3 separate regions of the Homo sapiens genome follow, and regions 2 and 3 are each linked to region 1. The links are contacts of gene promoters, found by promoter capture Hi-C in human tissues and cell types (Jung and others, 2019). All regions are on one chromosome and are shown on one strand. The core of a region is centred on a gene start or on the middle of the fragment in contact, and the rest is flanking DNA. Distances in the headings are between cores, read along the strand shown. Region 1 holds the start of SULT1A2 (sulfotransferase family 1A member 2). Region 2 has its middle 20 kb from the start of SBK1. Region 3 holds the start of RABEP2 (rabaptin, RAB GTPase binding effector protein 2).

Region 1 (5,156 bases), core at 1,339-3,838:
GTTTTGTTTGAAACAATGTCTCGTTGTGTCTCCCAGGCTGGAGTGCAGTGGCACAATCTCGGCTCACTGCAACCACCGCCTCCCAGGTGCAAGCTATTCTCCTGCCTCAGCCTCCCGAGTAGCTGGGATTACTGGCGCCTGCCCCAACGCCTGGCTAATTTTTGTATTTTTAGTAGAGACGGGGTTTCTCCATGTTGGCCAGGCTGATCTCAAACTCCTAACCTTGGGTGATCTGCCCACCTCGACCTCCGAAAGTGCTGGTATTACAGGCGTGAGCCACAACAGGCCCAGCCCCCTGCCACCTGCCGCTTTTTTTTTTTTTTTTTTTTTTTTTTTGAGACAGAGTTTTGCTCTTGTTTCCCAGGCTGCAGTGCAATGGTGAGGTCTCGGCTGACTACAACCTCTGCCTCCCAGCTTCAAGCAATTCTCCTGCTTCAGCCTCCCAAGTAGCTGGGATTACAGATGCCTGCCACCATGCCCGGCTAATTTTTTTGTATTTTTAGTAGAGATGGGGTTTTGCCATGTTGGCCAGGCTGATCTCAAACTCCTAGTCTCAGGTGATCCACCTGCCTCAGCCTCTTCAAGTGCTGGAATTACAGGTGTGAGCCACCGCACTGGTGGGACACTCTTTCTATTCATCGTTTTTTGAGACAGTGTTTCTCTGTCACCCAGCCTGGAGTGCACTGGTGTGATCATAGCTCACTGTAGCCTTAAACTCCTAGGCTCAGATGATCCTCCCACCTCAGCCTCCTGAGTAGCTGGTATTACAGGCACACACCACTATGCACAGCTAAGTTTTTTTTTTGGAAGAGACTTATCTGGAACTTCTGGCTTCAAGGGATCTTCCCACCTCAGCCTCCCAAAGTACTGAGATTGCGGGTGTGAACCACTGTGCCCAGTCTCACCTTGACCTTCTGATCCAACAGAGTCTGGGGGAGCAGAGCCAGGGGCAGGTGTGTCTTCAGGAGTCGTGGGGCTGGTGTGTTTTTCAGAGTCTCCATCCCTGAGCAGTGGGTCAGGGAAGGTCTGGTGAGCTGAAGCCCCAGCCCTGTCTTCCTCCACTCCCCTTGCACCCAGGACACACACACCTGAGGGAATCCCTGGGACTTTGAACTCAAGGAAGGGCACCCGCATGAAGATGGGAGCTCGGTGACACTTTTCCAGGTCACCGCCCTGGTAGATCATGTCCAGAATCTGGCTCACCCAGGTGGTGCCTGGAGAGGGAGGGAGATGGGAGGTGAGCAGGCTGAGGTGAGCATGACCTCGCTGGCCAAGGTGGGGACTGCCACCTGGGAGAGGGTGGGTGGCCCTCCTCACCTACCGGACTTGGGGTAGGTGCTGATGAGCAGGTCATCAGGCCGGGCCTGGAAGCTCTGCAGGGGCCCCAGTGCCTCTGCAAAGTACTTGATGAGCGGGACCCCCTTCACGTACTCCAGTGGCGGGCGAGAGATGTCCTGGATCAGCTCCATGTTCCTGCGTCAGGGGCCAGAGCCAGGCCCGTTCCCTTACCACCATCACAACAGCAAGAAAGTGGAATTCTTGCTTTCAGGGAAGTCACTGAGGCCTAGGGAGGCTGAGTGACTTGCCCGCACTCACAAGGCCAGTCAGTGGCGGGGCTGGGGCTGAAAACCAGGTCGGGCTCTAATGTGGTGGTTCCCCAGCCTGGCCTCACCTTTCATTCACCTGCGGAGCTGTTCAAAATCCCAGGGCCTGGGCCATGGTGCAGACCAGTGAAAGCACCCTCGTGGCGCGGGGCCCAGATGTCAGGGTGTGTGAAGGTCTCCAGGAGAGTCCAGCTGCACTGAGGAACCTCTAGGACCTTCCTGTGCTGTCTTCCTGCCAGCCAGCGCCCTTTGTCTCACCATTTCCTGCTGGGACCCCCAGCCTCCACCCAGTAGGCTCCTCTCCCCGATGTTCCCCTCCTTGAGCCCCTCGGCCCCTCACATGTGGCAACTCCTAGGCTGGCCAGGCCTGTGATCCACTTGCCCGGCCACAGTCCATCTGGGCTCCAGGACAAACAGCCCATTGAGCAACTGAGCTGGTATTGGGGGCCAGAGCCTGATGTGGGAATGAGCAAAACTGTGATGACTCAGCAAAAGGAGGATCCTGGGCAGGGTGGCTCCCACCTGTAATCCCAGACCCTAGGGAGGCTGAGGCCAGAATTTGGAGACCAATCTGGGCAGCATTGGAAGACCCCATCTCTAAAAATCTTTTAAAAATATTTTTTAAAACTATCCAGGCAGGATGGTGAGGGTCTGTAGTCCTAGCTACTGAGGCAGGAGAATCACTTGAGCCCAGGAATTCAAGGCTGCAGTGGCCAGGATCCCACAGCACTCCAGCCTCGGTGACAGCAAGACCTGGCCTCCCCGGAAAAAAAAAAAAGGAAGGGAGGGGGATTCAGGCCGGCCGGGGTTGTCTGAAATGGGATATCCATGGGGAGAGGGCAGGGATAGCAGAGGCCTCGGCTTCTGGAATGTTGGAGCCACAAGCTGAGCAGGGTGAGGGCGTCCTGGGCCATTCCGGTGTGTCACTCACCTGAGCTCTTGGGAACCTGGCCTTGTGCCCTCCTCGCCCGCAGTGGCTGAGTGTGGGTGTTGTGTGGGGAATGCAGGGGTGTTGTCTGTGCTGAGGGTTTCTTAGGTCAGTGTGGGAGGGATCTGGAGCCGGGGCTGGACTTAGATTTGCTTCCGGAAGGAAGGGGTAGGGTTGGGGGTGGGGGAGCTTCTCTATTACCCTCCTTAGTTTGCCAGCTGGAGACAAGCTTAAAGTGATCTCCAAAGCCACGACTGGGTTTGGTGTGTAGAAAACAGAAGAATGAAAGGGGAAAGGGCCCAATGGTGGGTTTGTTTTTGTGGGTTTTTTTTTTTGAGCTGTCACTGGGCTCCTGACCTGCCCCTGAACTCCAAAAGACAAGCTTTCTCTAATTGACCCAGGCAAGAGAGGGGAGGGATTGGAGGAGAAAGATGGGATAGGCAGGCCCTGGAAAGGTCACCTACCTGCTGGCTCCAGGCCAGTCTTGAAGGTGCCAGGGGTCCTGGCCCAGTGCAACCCACAGGCCTCCAGCAGCCCATGCACTCCAGGCTCTGACCACAAGGCCAGTCTGGAGTGATGCGTGTGGGCAGAGTGAAGGGGCAGGGGTGGAGCAGAGCATGGATCCATAGAACAAGAAAGAACAAGGACACTGCAGTCCCATTGCCCTGGGAGCCAGCCCCAGCTTCATGGCTCCCTGGGGACCTCACAGAACATCGATAGAAGATCCTAGAAGAACCACAGCCCCTGGCAGGTACTTTTCTTTCCATGGGTTTGAAGGAGGCTCCACAGACAGAGGCCAGAGGAGGTTGAGGCTTGGAAGCCACAGGGCCCCGTGGAAGGAGTGCATCCCCCCACCCTCCTCGTTCTTTGTCCTCACTATTTAAAGTCCAGGGTCAAGCTGGGCACGAGACAGGTAAACAACCATCTGAGTAAAGGTGAGTCTCCCAAGCCTTCCCAGGGTTGCGTGAGCTCAGAGGCAAGCGGGGAAAACTGAGGCATGGGATTTCCAGGCAGAGGAGAGGCTGCTCCCCTGCTAGGGCCACAGGCCCCTCCTCCCTCCTCTGTGCCCCTGAGGAATCCCCATGACTGGCAGGTCCTCCGGCTACTAGCTCCACCCCTGCCCTCAGCAACCTTCAGGAGGCCCTCTTGACTGAGACTTTGTATTGCACTCTAGTGAAAACCAGCCGGACCAGCAGGGGGTGGCACAGAAAAGAGGCGAGAATGTGAGATTAATAGAGTGCTAGCAAGACAACAGAAAATCCCAGGCAGCAGTTTCACATGACCAGAAGAAGGAAACTTGAAATAGCTGCATGTGCCAAGGGCCAATAAGTCCCTGAAAAATAGGATGAGGACCAAGCTGGCTGCGACCAACCAGAAGCAACATGGCGCTGTATTTGATGTAGGTTTCACCTAGGATCTCACTGTACAATCAGTAACATATGAAACCGTACACCCACCAGTGCCAAGACGGCTCCAGGAACACCTGTATTTGGGTGTAAATTGTGGCACCACGGTCTTGAGAAATCTTTACCTTTTCCTGGAATCTTCATGAATATACCCCTCTTTAGTTGAAGAAGCCCATAAAGGTCAGCCCCACACCTTGTAGGGCATGAGACACTCTCTTGAGGACCCCCACGTTCCTCTTCTTCAGTGAGTCCCTTTACTCTGCAGGAAATCTGCCTACGTTCATGACTTTTGCACTTGTCCTTAAATTGTTTCTGGCTAAGGTGCCAAGAGCCTGGAGAAGGCCTGGCACGGTGGCTCACTCCTGTAATCCCAGCACTTTGGGAGGCCGAGGCAGGCAGACCACCTGAAGTCGGGAGTTTGAGACCAGCCTGACCAACATGGAGAAACCTTGTCTCTACTAAAAATAGAAAATTAGTCAAGCCTGGTGGCACACGCCTGTAATCCCAGCTACTTGGGAGGCTGAGGCAGGAGAATCGCTTGAACCCGGGAGGCGGAGGTTGCGGTGAGCCAAGATCACGCCATTGCACTCCAGCCTGGGCAACAAGAGTGAAACTCGGTCTCAAAAAAACAAAACAAAACAAAAAAAAGCGTGGAAACGGGCTGAGGTCGATGTCCCACCGGTCTTTGATGACCTCCCCTAGGCCACCAGTATCTGGAGGGGATTAGGGACACTGAGCTCCAGCAGGGCTATCCAGTGTGCCTGCAGAAACAAGGTTGGTCACAGGCAGCCCAGGACAGGGAGTGGGGTAGGGAGGCTGGGGCCAAAGCCCACTCACGTCTTCTAATTCCGAGTCTTCCACTATTTCCCCCGTGCTCATCCATCACAGCCAGATCAGGTCACCCAAAGCAGTGACGCCTCACAGCTACCAAGGCATGGGGCCAGAGAGAGAGACAGAGTCAGGCATCACAAGCCCCCTCCAGGCTCAGCCCTGAATACCAAGATCAGGACACGGCTGCCCCGGCCTGGATTGCACAACTGGGCACCCTCTTCCCAAAGCTGGACCAGGCTGGGGCCGGGGGACTGCACTCAGCTAGGGCATTGGCCCTCTAGGGGCAGAAGCTGCCCTGGTTCTTCCGGAAGGAACTCCTCTCACAGGCAGATCACGTGGGCTCTTAGCCAACAGCCAGGGTTGGGGCAACACAAGGGCCCCGCTTCA
Region 2 (5,156 bases), core at 1,808-4,307, 320 kb before region 1:
AGACAGTAGAGAGGAGAGGAAATAGTCAAAAAAATGTTTCCACTATTTCTTAGAACTGAAGGGCCTGAGTTTCCTGATTAAAAGAGCCCACGGAGTGACCATCCAAAGGATAAAAATAGGCTGGGTGTGGTGGCTCATGCCTGTAATCCCAGCACTTTGGGAGGCCGAGGCAGCAGGATCAGTTGAGGTCAGGAGTTTGAGACCAGCCTGGCCTGTATGGTAAAATCCCATCTCTACTAAAAATACAAAAAAAAAAAAATTAGCTGAGAGTGGTGGCACGCACCTGTAGTCCCAGCTACTCTCAAGGCTGAGGCACGAGAATCGCTTGAACTCGGGAGGTGGGGGTTGCAGTGAGCCAAGATTGCACCACTGCACTCCAGCCTGGGTGACAGAGCAAGACTCCGTCTCAAACAAACAAACAAACAAAAACAAAGGATAAAAATAGACTCATGCCAAAGCCAATCGCCAGTAAATTTCAAGACACTGGGACAAGAAGAAAATTCTCCAAAATTGTATAGAGTATCAAGAATCATAATGGCATCGGACTTCTCAACAGCAATCCTGGAAACGAGAAGACAATGAACTATGTTTTTTCCATTTTTGTTTTTGTTTTTTTGAGACACAGTCTTGTGCTCTGTCGCCAGGCTGGAGTGCAGTGGCGTGATCTCCACTCAACCTCCGCCTCCCAGGTTCAAGCGATTCTCCTGCCTCAGCCTCAAGAGTAGCTGGGACTACAGGCGCACACCCCCACAGCCAGATAATTTTTGTATTTTTAGTAGAGATGAGGTTTCACCATGTTGGCCAGGATGGTCTCGATCTCTTGATCTCGTGATCCACCCACCTCGGCCTCCCAAAGTGCTGGAATTACAGGCGTGAGCCACCACGATCTGCCGGAACTATGTTTCCAAAAGTAGAAAAGAAAATTATTTTCAGCCTAGAATTATTATTATTATTATTATTATTATTATTATTACTAAAGACAGGGTTTTGCTCTGTCACCCAGGCTACAGTGCAGTGGCACAATCATGTCTCACTGCAGTCTCAACCTCCTGAGCCCAAATGATCCTCCTATCTGAGCCTCCTGGGTACCTGGGACCACAGGCAGTGCCACCACACCCGGCCAATTTTTTAATTTTTGTAGAAACAGGGTTTTACCATGTTGCCCAGGCTGGTCTTGAACTCCTGGCTCAAGTGATCCTCCCATTTCAGCCTCCCAAAGTGCTGGGATTACAGGCATGAGCCACTGTGCCCAGCCCTCAGCATAGAATTCAATACTTAGCCAAACTACTAATAAAGTGAGAGTAGAAAAAACAATATTTTCAGATTGGCAAGAGCTCAAAAATTTTACCTCCTATGCACCCTTTCTTATTTATTTATTTATTTATTTATTTATTTATTTATTTATTTATTTTTTGAGACGGAGTCTTGCTCTGTTGCCCAGGCTGGAGTGCAACAGCGTGCTCTCCGCTCACTGCAAGCTCCGCCTCCCGGGTACATGCCATTCTCCTGCCTCAGCCTCCCGAGTAGCTGGGACTACAGGCGCCCGCCACCACGCCTGGCTAATTTTTTGTACTTTTAGTAGAGACGGGGTTTCACCATGTTAGCCAGGATGGTCTCGATCTCCTGACCTTGTGATCCACCCGTCTCAGCCTCCCAAAGTGCTGGGATTACAGGCGTGAGCCACTGCACCCGGCCTACGCACCCTTACTTGAGAAAGCTACTGGAGGATGTACTCCACTAAAATAAGGGAGTAAACCAAGTAAAACAAGAAATAGTAAACAAGAAAAACAATAAAGAGTAAGACCTGGGCCAGGAGTAGTGGCTCACACCTGTAATCTTAGCACTTTAGGAGGCCAAAGCAGGCAGATCACCTGAGGTCGGGAGTTGAAGACCAGCCTGGCCAACATGGTGAAACCCCATTTCTACTAAAAATACAAAAATTAGCTGGGCATGGTGGCACACGCCTGTAATCTCAGCTACTTGGGAGGCTGAGACAGGAGAATCACTTGAACCTGGGAGGCGGAGGTTGCAGTGAGCCAAGATCACACCACTGCACTCCAGGCTGGGTGACAGAATGCGACTCCGTCCCCCCACCCCCAAAAAAGAGAGTAACATCTGGACTCCAGGAAACAGGAATTGAATGTAAGAGAGAGGAGAAGAGAATCTCGCAGTTCACACTCAAATAAGAGAAGAGATCTCTTCAAGGAGATGAAATTGATAGAATACCTAATGTTTTTGAATTTTGGAGACATTTACACAAGTAGGGGAGAATATGGGTTGACTGATATATAAACATGTAGGTAAACAAGTACTCCCCTCTCCAAAAAATGTTATCAAATCCAGGAAAACCGAAACTTTTGAACAGAAAAGGGAAAGAAATTTAAAATGAAAATTTCTGCCCTGCAAAAGACTCTGCCAAGAGAATGTGAAGAGAAGCCACAGAATGGCAGAAAATATCAAGTGCTCCTTGGTATTTACCCAAATAAGTTGAAAATTTATGCCCACAGAAAATCCTGCACATGAATATTTGCTAGTTTCGTTTTACTGTGGTAAGGACACTTAATGAAATTTGTCCTCCTAACATATTTTTAAATGTACAATACATGTATAATACATGGTTGTTTTTTTGAGACATGGTCTTACTCTGTTACTGAGGCTGGAGTACAATCACAGCTCACTGCAGCCTCCATCTCCTGGGCTCAAGCAATCCTCCATCCTCAGCCTCCAGAGTAGCTGGGACTACAGATGCATGCCACCATGTCCAGTTAATTTTTAAATTTTTTATAGGGACAGAGTTTCGCTATGTTGTCCAGGCTGGTTTCGAACTCCTGGGCTCAAGTGGTCCTCTAGCCTCAGCCTCCCAAAGTGCTGGGATTCCAGGTGTGAGCCCCTGGTACAGAGTTACACAGCAGCTCTTTAGAGCTTATTCATCTTGCTTTATTGAATCTTTATGCCTACTGATGAGCTATTCCCCAATTTCTTCTGCAACTCTGACAACTATAGAACCAAAATCTAGGAATTAGACTTCTTTAGATATCCCATATAAGTGGAATTATGAGATATGTGTCCTTCTGTGGCTTATTTTGCTTTGCATAATGTCCTTGAGTTTCATCTATGTTGTCACATATTTTTTTTCTTTCTTTCTTTCTTTCTTTTTTTTTTTTTTTTTTTTGAGACGGAGTCTCACTCTGTCACCCAGGCTGGAGTGCAGTGGCATGATCTTGGCTCACTGCAACCTCTGCCTCCCAGGTTCAAGCGATTCTTCTGCCTCAGCCCCCTGAGTAGCTGGGACTACAGGCATGCCCCACCACGCCTGGCTAATTTTTGTATTTTTAGTAGAGATAGGGTTTCACCATATTGGCCAGGCTGGTCTCGAACTCCTGACCTTGTGATCCACCCACTTCGGCCTCCCAAAGTGCTGGGATTACAGGCGTGAGCCACCATGCCTGGCCTGTCATCGCATATTTTTAAGGCTTAATTGTAGTAGTCCCTGTTGCATGTATAGATCACATTTTTTTCATCCATTCAACCCATTTGGGTTATTTCTACATTTGGCTATTGTGAATATTGTTGTAAAGAACACAGGAGTGCTAATACCATTTTGAGAATTATTTTTTTCTTTTTTTAGAGACAGGGTCTCATTATGTTGCCCAGGCTGGTCTCGAACTCATGGCCTCAAGCAGTCCCTTCACTTTGAACTCCCAAAGTGCTGGATTAAAGGTGTGAGCCACCGCACCTGGCCTCTCTTTCAGATTTTTTTTTTTTCTTTTGAGACAGAGTTTCTTTCTTATTGACCAAGCTAGAGTGCAATGGCGCAGTCTCGGCTCACTGCAACTTCCGCCTCCTGGGTTCAAGCAATTCTCCTGCCCCAGGCTCCCAAGTAGCTGAGATTACAGGCGTGAGCCCCCATGCCCAGCTAATTTTTGTATTTTTAGTAGAGATGGGGTTTCACCATTTTGGCCAGGCTGGTCTCAACAAACTCTTGACCTCAGGTGATCCGCCTGCCTCGGCCTCCCAAAGTGCTGGGATTACAGGCATGAGCCACCATGCCCGGCCATAGGTTGTCTTTTCACTGTGTAGATTGTTTCTTTTGCTAAGCAGAAGCTTTTTAGTTTGATGTAGTCCCACTTGTCCATTTCATTTTTTTGTAGAGATGGGGTTATGCCGTGTTACCCAGGCTGGTCTTAAACTCCTGAGCTCAAGCAGTCCACCCACCTTGGCCTCCCACAGTGCTGGGATTCCAGGCGAGAGTCCCTGCGCCCAGCCCCACTTGTCTATTCTTGTTTTTGCTGCCTGTTTTTGGTGTCTTATCTGCACATGAATATTTATAGCAGCTTTATTCATAATTGCCAAAACTTGGAAGAAACCACAATGACAATGTCCTTCTATAGGTACACCCATACAATGGAACATTCAGTGATAAAATGAGCCATCAAGCCACCCAAAAGACACAGAGGAACCTTAAATGTGTATTGCTACGTGAAAGAAGCCAGTCTGAAAAGTACTATCTGACTCCAGTGATATGACATTCTGGAAAAACCAAAACTAAAGAGAATAAAAAGATCAGTGGTTGCCAGGGGGCTGGCGGGAGAGAGGGAGGGATGAAGAGGTACAGCATGGTGGATTTTTAGGGCAGTGAAACTATTCTGTATGATACTGGGAGGGTGGACCTGTAACATACATTTGTCAAAACCCATGGAACTCTACAAAACAAAGAATGAGCCCCGATGATGTAACATATGAACTTTAGTTAGCAACTATGTATCAATCTTGGTTCATCAGTTTTAACAAGTGCACCACGCTGATACAAGATGTTAATGGTAGGAGAAATTTGTTGGGAGGAGAGGAAGTATACTACAAAACTGAAAGTCTCTTGGTCAATTCAAACGCGTTCTGCTCAGGCCAGGTGCGATGGCTCACACATGTAATCCCAGCACTTTGGGATGCCGAGGAAGGCAGAGCACCCGAGGTCTGGAGTCCAAGACCAGCCTGGCCAACATGGTGAAACCCCGTCTCTACTAAAAATACAAAAAAATTAGCCAGGCATGGTGGTGGGTGCCTGTAATCCCAGCTATTCGGGAGGCTGAGGCAGGAGAATCGCTTGAACCCAGGAGGCGGAGGTTGCAGTGAGCCGAGATCGAGCCACTGCACTCCAG
Region 3 (5,156 bases), core at 899-3,398, 330 kb after region 1:
GCCTGGCACATAGTGAGTGCTCAAAACATGCTACCTGGCCAGGCGCGGTGGCTCACACCTGTAATCCCAGCACTTTGGGAGGCCAAGGCAGGCAGATCGTTTGAGCTCAGGAGTTCAAGACCTGTCTGGGTAACATAGAGAGACCCTGTTTCTACAAAAAAATACTAAAAATTAGCCAGGCATGGTGGCATGCACCTGTAGTCTTGGCTACTTGGGAGGCTGAGGTAGGAGGATCTGCTTGAGCCCAGGAGGTGGAGGTTGCAGTGAGCTGAGATCACACCAGCGTGCTGTGACGCACTCCAGCTTGGGCGACAGAGTGAAACTCTTATTGACTCAAGAAAAAAAAAAAAAGCTAGCTATTGTTATTATTTAGGACACACCTGGCTTTTCTTATATAGTAGATATAACAAGTTTCCCTTAATAAATGTATGTAAACTTTTAAAATGTGGATCTATTTAAAGAACAAATATTAAGTAAACAGCACAGTAAGTTGTACAAGGATGTGTCTACATTGCACAGGCAGGTGGATCCTGAAATGTGGGAAATACAGCCCCAGAGAAGTCTCCAGCCACCAGCAGCTGTTAGAAAGGGAAATCGCATGTTGGGAAGGGAATTTTAGGAAGTTTACTCTGGAAGCCAATGTCAAGGCCACACTATAGAGGAAGATCTGTGAGAAGGTTGGGACAAAAGTCCAGGAGAGAGTTGACGAGAGCCCCACCGCAGCAGGGGCATAGCAGCGGGGGCAGCTCTGACATCTGTTTCAGAGTCTCTGGCTTCTGCTAGAGGAAGGAGAGTAGAAAACAGGATCAGCAGCTGGGGCGTCTGGGGCCAGAGGACCAAGTACAAAGAACGTGGGGCGGAGGTGGGGAAGCTGGTGCATGGCGTGGGGTGGAGGGGGGAGTGTCTGGGGAAGGCTAGAGAGCAGAGCATTAGACTCACAGAGACTGGGCCAGGGCTGATTCTATTTCCCAGAAGTCCAGACTAAAATGAGGTTGGTTTGGGGAACTGAGAAGTTTCTCGCCCATCTTCAGGGTTGATCAATCATCAGTGAGGGACAAGAAATGACATGGGACAAGGCAACAGATAGAAGCTGGGAGCTAAACTTAGCTATAACTGACAGAGCTGCTGCTATCACATGGAGGGCCTCTATGCAAATTTTAAAAGGGCGGCCCTTCCTCTGGGCCATAGGCATGCCCTGTGCCAGGCAGCCCTGCTAACCTATCCCATAGCTTATCTGTGCCCCCAATCCCTTTCTCGTCATGCACTCCCCAGTATGGGGTTGATGGGGAGTCTAGGTGAGTCCCGCGTCTCACCTTTCAGGATGGCCTGCAGCGAGGCCACCTCCTCTTGGCACTGCCGCTGCACCGCAGCCACAGCCTCGGCCTTCGTGCTCTCGCTCACCTCTGCCACAGCCTTCATGGTTTCCATTTCTGCCAGGGCGCCTGCCAGCTCAGCCCGAAGCCGGCTGAGCTCACCTGACTCGGCCTCACCATTTGCCCCTTCCTGGGACCGGGAGTCCTCCAGTGCTGTGGGGGACAGGGATCAGCCTCTCTTCCCATCTCTTACCCCAGGCCACCTACCGGCTTAGCAAGTCCTGCAACCTAGTACTGTTGCCTTCATCTGGGGCCTCCTTCACCTGGGCCCGCCCGGCTCACCTGGCCCCGCCCCTGCCCCGCCCCCTTCCCACTCGCTCTGCCGGGTGCTGCCTACACTCCATCTCTTCGCGGTGGCCAGTTTCACTCAGTCCTCTCTTCGGTCCCACCTGGCCCCGCCCTCCTAGTGGCCGCGCCCCTTCCTCACCGGGCCCCACTTCGCACCTGTCACTGGCCCTACCCCTTCAATGGCCGGGCCACGCCCCCTTTTGCCTGTGGCTGTAGGCCCCGCCCCCTTTCCCGACGGCGTGGCCCCGCCCCTTCCTCCATCATCCCTCTCCACCCCCCATCCGCAGGTGGCTGGCTCGGCCCCGCCCCCAGCATCACCGTTCCCCGCTTGCACGGACGCCCCCTCACGTACCAGCCCCCGGCCGCCGCCGCCGCTCATCGTCGTCCGCGGCCACCGGCGCAGCTGCCGCCATTGCCTCAGCGCAAACGGCGGATTCCCGCACTCCCTGGTGACGGAGCGCACCGCTTCCGGGTCCTCTCGGCTGTTTCCGGATCCGCTCGGCTGTTTCCGGATCGGCCCCGGGCTGGAGGCCCCGGACGGAGGATGGGGGGATTGCCGAGCCTCGGCCGAAGATTCCCGAGTCGGCCCCCGGCCCCGGCCCCGGCCCCGCCCCGGCTCTTCTTGGCTGGGTCGCGCGGTTCGGGAGGACGCCTGCCTTTCAAGCCCGGAAGAGGATCCTTAAGAGGTCTTGCCCGGCGTCTCTCCGTGACCTTGGAAGCCCTGCTCCAATTATGCCTCCTCCGGGACACCGGCCTGCGGAGAGCTCCCCCTCGCTCCCTCGCTGCCCCTGCCCGGAGCCAGCCTTTGATCGGCTCCGGCCGCCCTTCCGCCCGAGCCTGGCTTGCGTTACCGCGAATTGTGGCGGGGCCCTCCCTGCACCTCCGCCCTCTTGGAGCGTCCCTCGGGGCAGGGCCGGGTCGGCTTCATTTTTCTGAGCGCCTCGGAGTCCCCGCGTAGTTAGTCGGAGTCTGAAACTTGCACGTCCCCACCCCCATTTTGTTACTCAGCCAGTCACCGCTTCCTGCTGGCCCCCCTTTCCTCCTCCCAACGCCCTCAAATCCCTCCTCTCCTCTCCGCCTGTGTCTAGATCAGGCTCTTTATCTGTGACCTCCACCCGGACGGTGACAGGCAATTCAGATTTATGTCCAGAGCCTTGGTTCCCCTTCCCTCAAACCTTTTTTCCCTCTGTAAAGGACACGCCAGGAACCTGGAAGTCCTTGATTCTACGTGTCCTCCTGCAAGTCCCGTAAACTCTACTTCCAATGTGCTGACTATTCCAGAATGTGCCCCTTTTTCTCCATCTCCAGCGCTAACACTCCGTCCCAGCTCCCATCACTTCTCCTGAACTTCCGCAGTGTCGACTCCACCCTTTAATTAATTAATTCTCCGTAAAGCAGCTGGAGCGATTTTTGTAAAACAGATAATGCAGTTTGAAAATGGCCAAAGGTAGAACGCTTTTACACTGTTGGTGGGAATGTAAATTAGTTCAACCATTGTGGAAGACAGTGTGGTGATTCCTCAAAGACCTAGAACCAGAAATACCATTTGACCCAGAAATCCCATTACTGGGTATATACCTAAAGGAATATAAATCATTCTATTACAAAGATACATGCACGAGTATGTTCATTGAAGCACTATTCAAAATAGCAAAGACATGGACTCAACCCAAATGCCCATCAATGATAGACTGGATAAAGAAAATGTGGTACATATACACCATGGAATACTATACAGCCATAAAAAGGAACGAGATCATGTCCTTTGCAGGGACATGGATGAAGCTAGAAGCTATTATCCTCAGCAAATTAATGCAGCAACAGAAAGCTAAACATGCATGTTCTCACTTATAAGTGGGAGCTGAACAATGAGAACACATGGACACAGGGAGGGGACCAACACACATGGGGGCCTGTGGGGTGGGTGTTGGGAGGGGGGAGGGAGAGCATCAGCAAGAGTAGCTAATGCATCCTGGGCTTGATACCTAGGTGATGGGTTAATGGGTGCGGTAAACTACCATGGCAGATGTTTCCCTGTGTAACAAACCTGCACATCGTGCACATGTACCCCAGAACTTGAAATAAAGAAAATGGACAAAGGATATGAACGGATATTTCACTGCTGTCACAGGTGGCAATATGTGCATGAAAAGATGTTAAACATCATTAGCTATTTATTCGGGAAATACAAATTAAAACCACAATTGCTTTCATCACTACGCACTTCTTGGAATGGCTAAAATAAGAATGCTAACACCAAATGCTGGTGAGTATGTGGAGAAACTAGGTTTCTCATATTTTGTTGATGGGAATGTGAAATGGTATAGCCACTCTGCAAAAAGAGTATGGCAGTTTTGAACAAAACTAAACACGCACTTACTTTTTCATCAAGTATAAAACCAAGTGTTTTCCACCAAGCTTGGAGCTGAGGTCTCGGCTCAAATGTTACCTCCTCAGTGAGGCCTTCCCTGATCACCCTAACTAAAATAACCACCTCTGGCTGAGTGTGGTGGCTTATGCCTATAATGCTAGCACTTTAGGAGGCCAATGGCAGGAGGATCACTTGAGCCCAGGGGTTCGAGACCAGCCTGAACAACATAGTGAGACCTCATCTCTACAAAAAATTAAAAAATTAGCTGGGCATGGCCGGACACGGTGGCTCACGCCTGTAATCCCAGCACTTTGGGAGGCTGAGGAGGGCGGATCACGAGGTTAGGAGATCAAGACCATCCTGGCTAACATGGTGAAACCCTGTCTCTACTAAAAATACAAAAAATTAGCCGGGCATGGTGGCATGCGCCTATAGTCCCAGCTACTTGGGAGGCTGAGGCAGGAGAATTGCTTGAACCCGGGAGGCAGAGGTTGCAGTGAGCTGAGATCATGCCATTACACTCCAGCCTGGGCAGCAGAGCAAGACTCTGTCTCAAAAAAAAAAAAAAATTAGCTGGGCATGGTGATGTGCATCTGTAGTCCAAGCTACTCAAGAGGCTGAGGCGGGAAGATCTACTTGAGCCCTGGAGGCTGAGGCTGCAGTGAGCATGATTGTGCCACTGCACTCCAGCCTGAGGGAGAGAAAGACCCTGTCTAAAAAAAAAAAAAAAAAATTAAATCCAGACTCCCTGTGCATGCAGCAGGGTTTCTGGGGAAGGGGCTGAAATAATGACTAGAAATCAGCCTCCAGTCAGTTTGGGGAGGGCCTTCCTGACAGCTCTCAGGTTTGAGTTTATCCTGCAGGCCCTGGGAGCCACTGAAGGCCATTGAACAGGGGAAGCACATGACTAACATCAAAGAAGTTCTCTTGACATGCGGAGTGTAGATGGGAACCAAAAGATATAGGGGACAGGGAGCCCAGGAGAGAGGCTGTTGAATTGCTTCTGATTGTGAAGGAAGGATTCAGAGGGGAAAATTGATTCCATCAATATTTAGGATATAAAATGGACTGGCCTTGATGATAGAGTGCATGTGGGGGAAGAGAAAAGAAAATTTCGACCAGAT

Evidence for each region. The method cuts DNA at HindIII sites, captures the fragments that hold promoters and counts their contacts. A contact is called where the count stands out against the background at its distance.
Region 2: a contact is called between a fragment that was not itself captured here and the fragment with the promoter of SULT1A2 in region 1, in 1 of the 25 tissues and cell types used here (dorsolateral prefrontal cortex).
Region 3: the fragment with the promoter of RABEP2 here is called in contact with the fragment with the promoter of SULT1A2 in region 1 in 1 of the 25 tissues and cell types used here (H1 embryonic stem cells).

The regions. Positions count from the first base shown.
Region 1 is chr16:28,594,462-28,599,617 of GRCh38, forward strand. SULT1A2 (sulfotransferase family 1A member 2) reads right to left here and starts at 2,589. Exons shown (of 8, transcript NM_001054.4): 1 at 2,536-2,589; 2 at 1,322-1,473; 3 at 1,089-1,214; 4 at 906-1,003. The coding sequence starts at 1,469. RefSeq lists enhancers at 2,527-2,821, 4,455-4,989, 4,990-5,156. The HindIII fragment of the contact is 13,947 bases long and covers 1-5,156 here.
Region 2 is chr16:28,269,468-28,274,623 of GRCh38, forward strand. It overlaps a transcript of SBK1 not described here. Among named protein-coding and RNA genes, the nearest start is that of SBK1, 20 kb to the right of the region's middle. The HindIII fragment of the contact is 4,022 bases long and covers 1,047-5,068 here.
Region 3 is chr16:28,923,090-28,928,245 of GRCh38, forward strand. It overlaps RABEP2 (rabaptin, RAB GTPase binding effector protein 2), which reads right to left and starts at 2,149. Exons shown (of 13, transcript NM_024816.3): 1 at 2,014-2,149; 2 at 1,314-1,526. The coding sequence starts at 2,074. RefSeq lists enhancers at 1,281-1,370, 1,401-1,630, 2,609-3,192 and silencers at 1,791-2,010, 2,041-2,390. The HindIII fragment of the contact is 23,237 bases long and covers 1-5,156 here.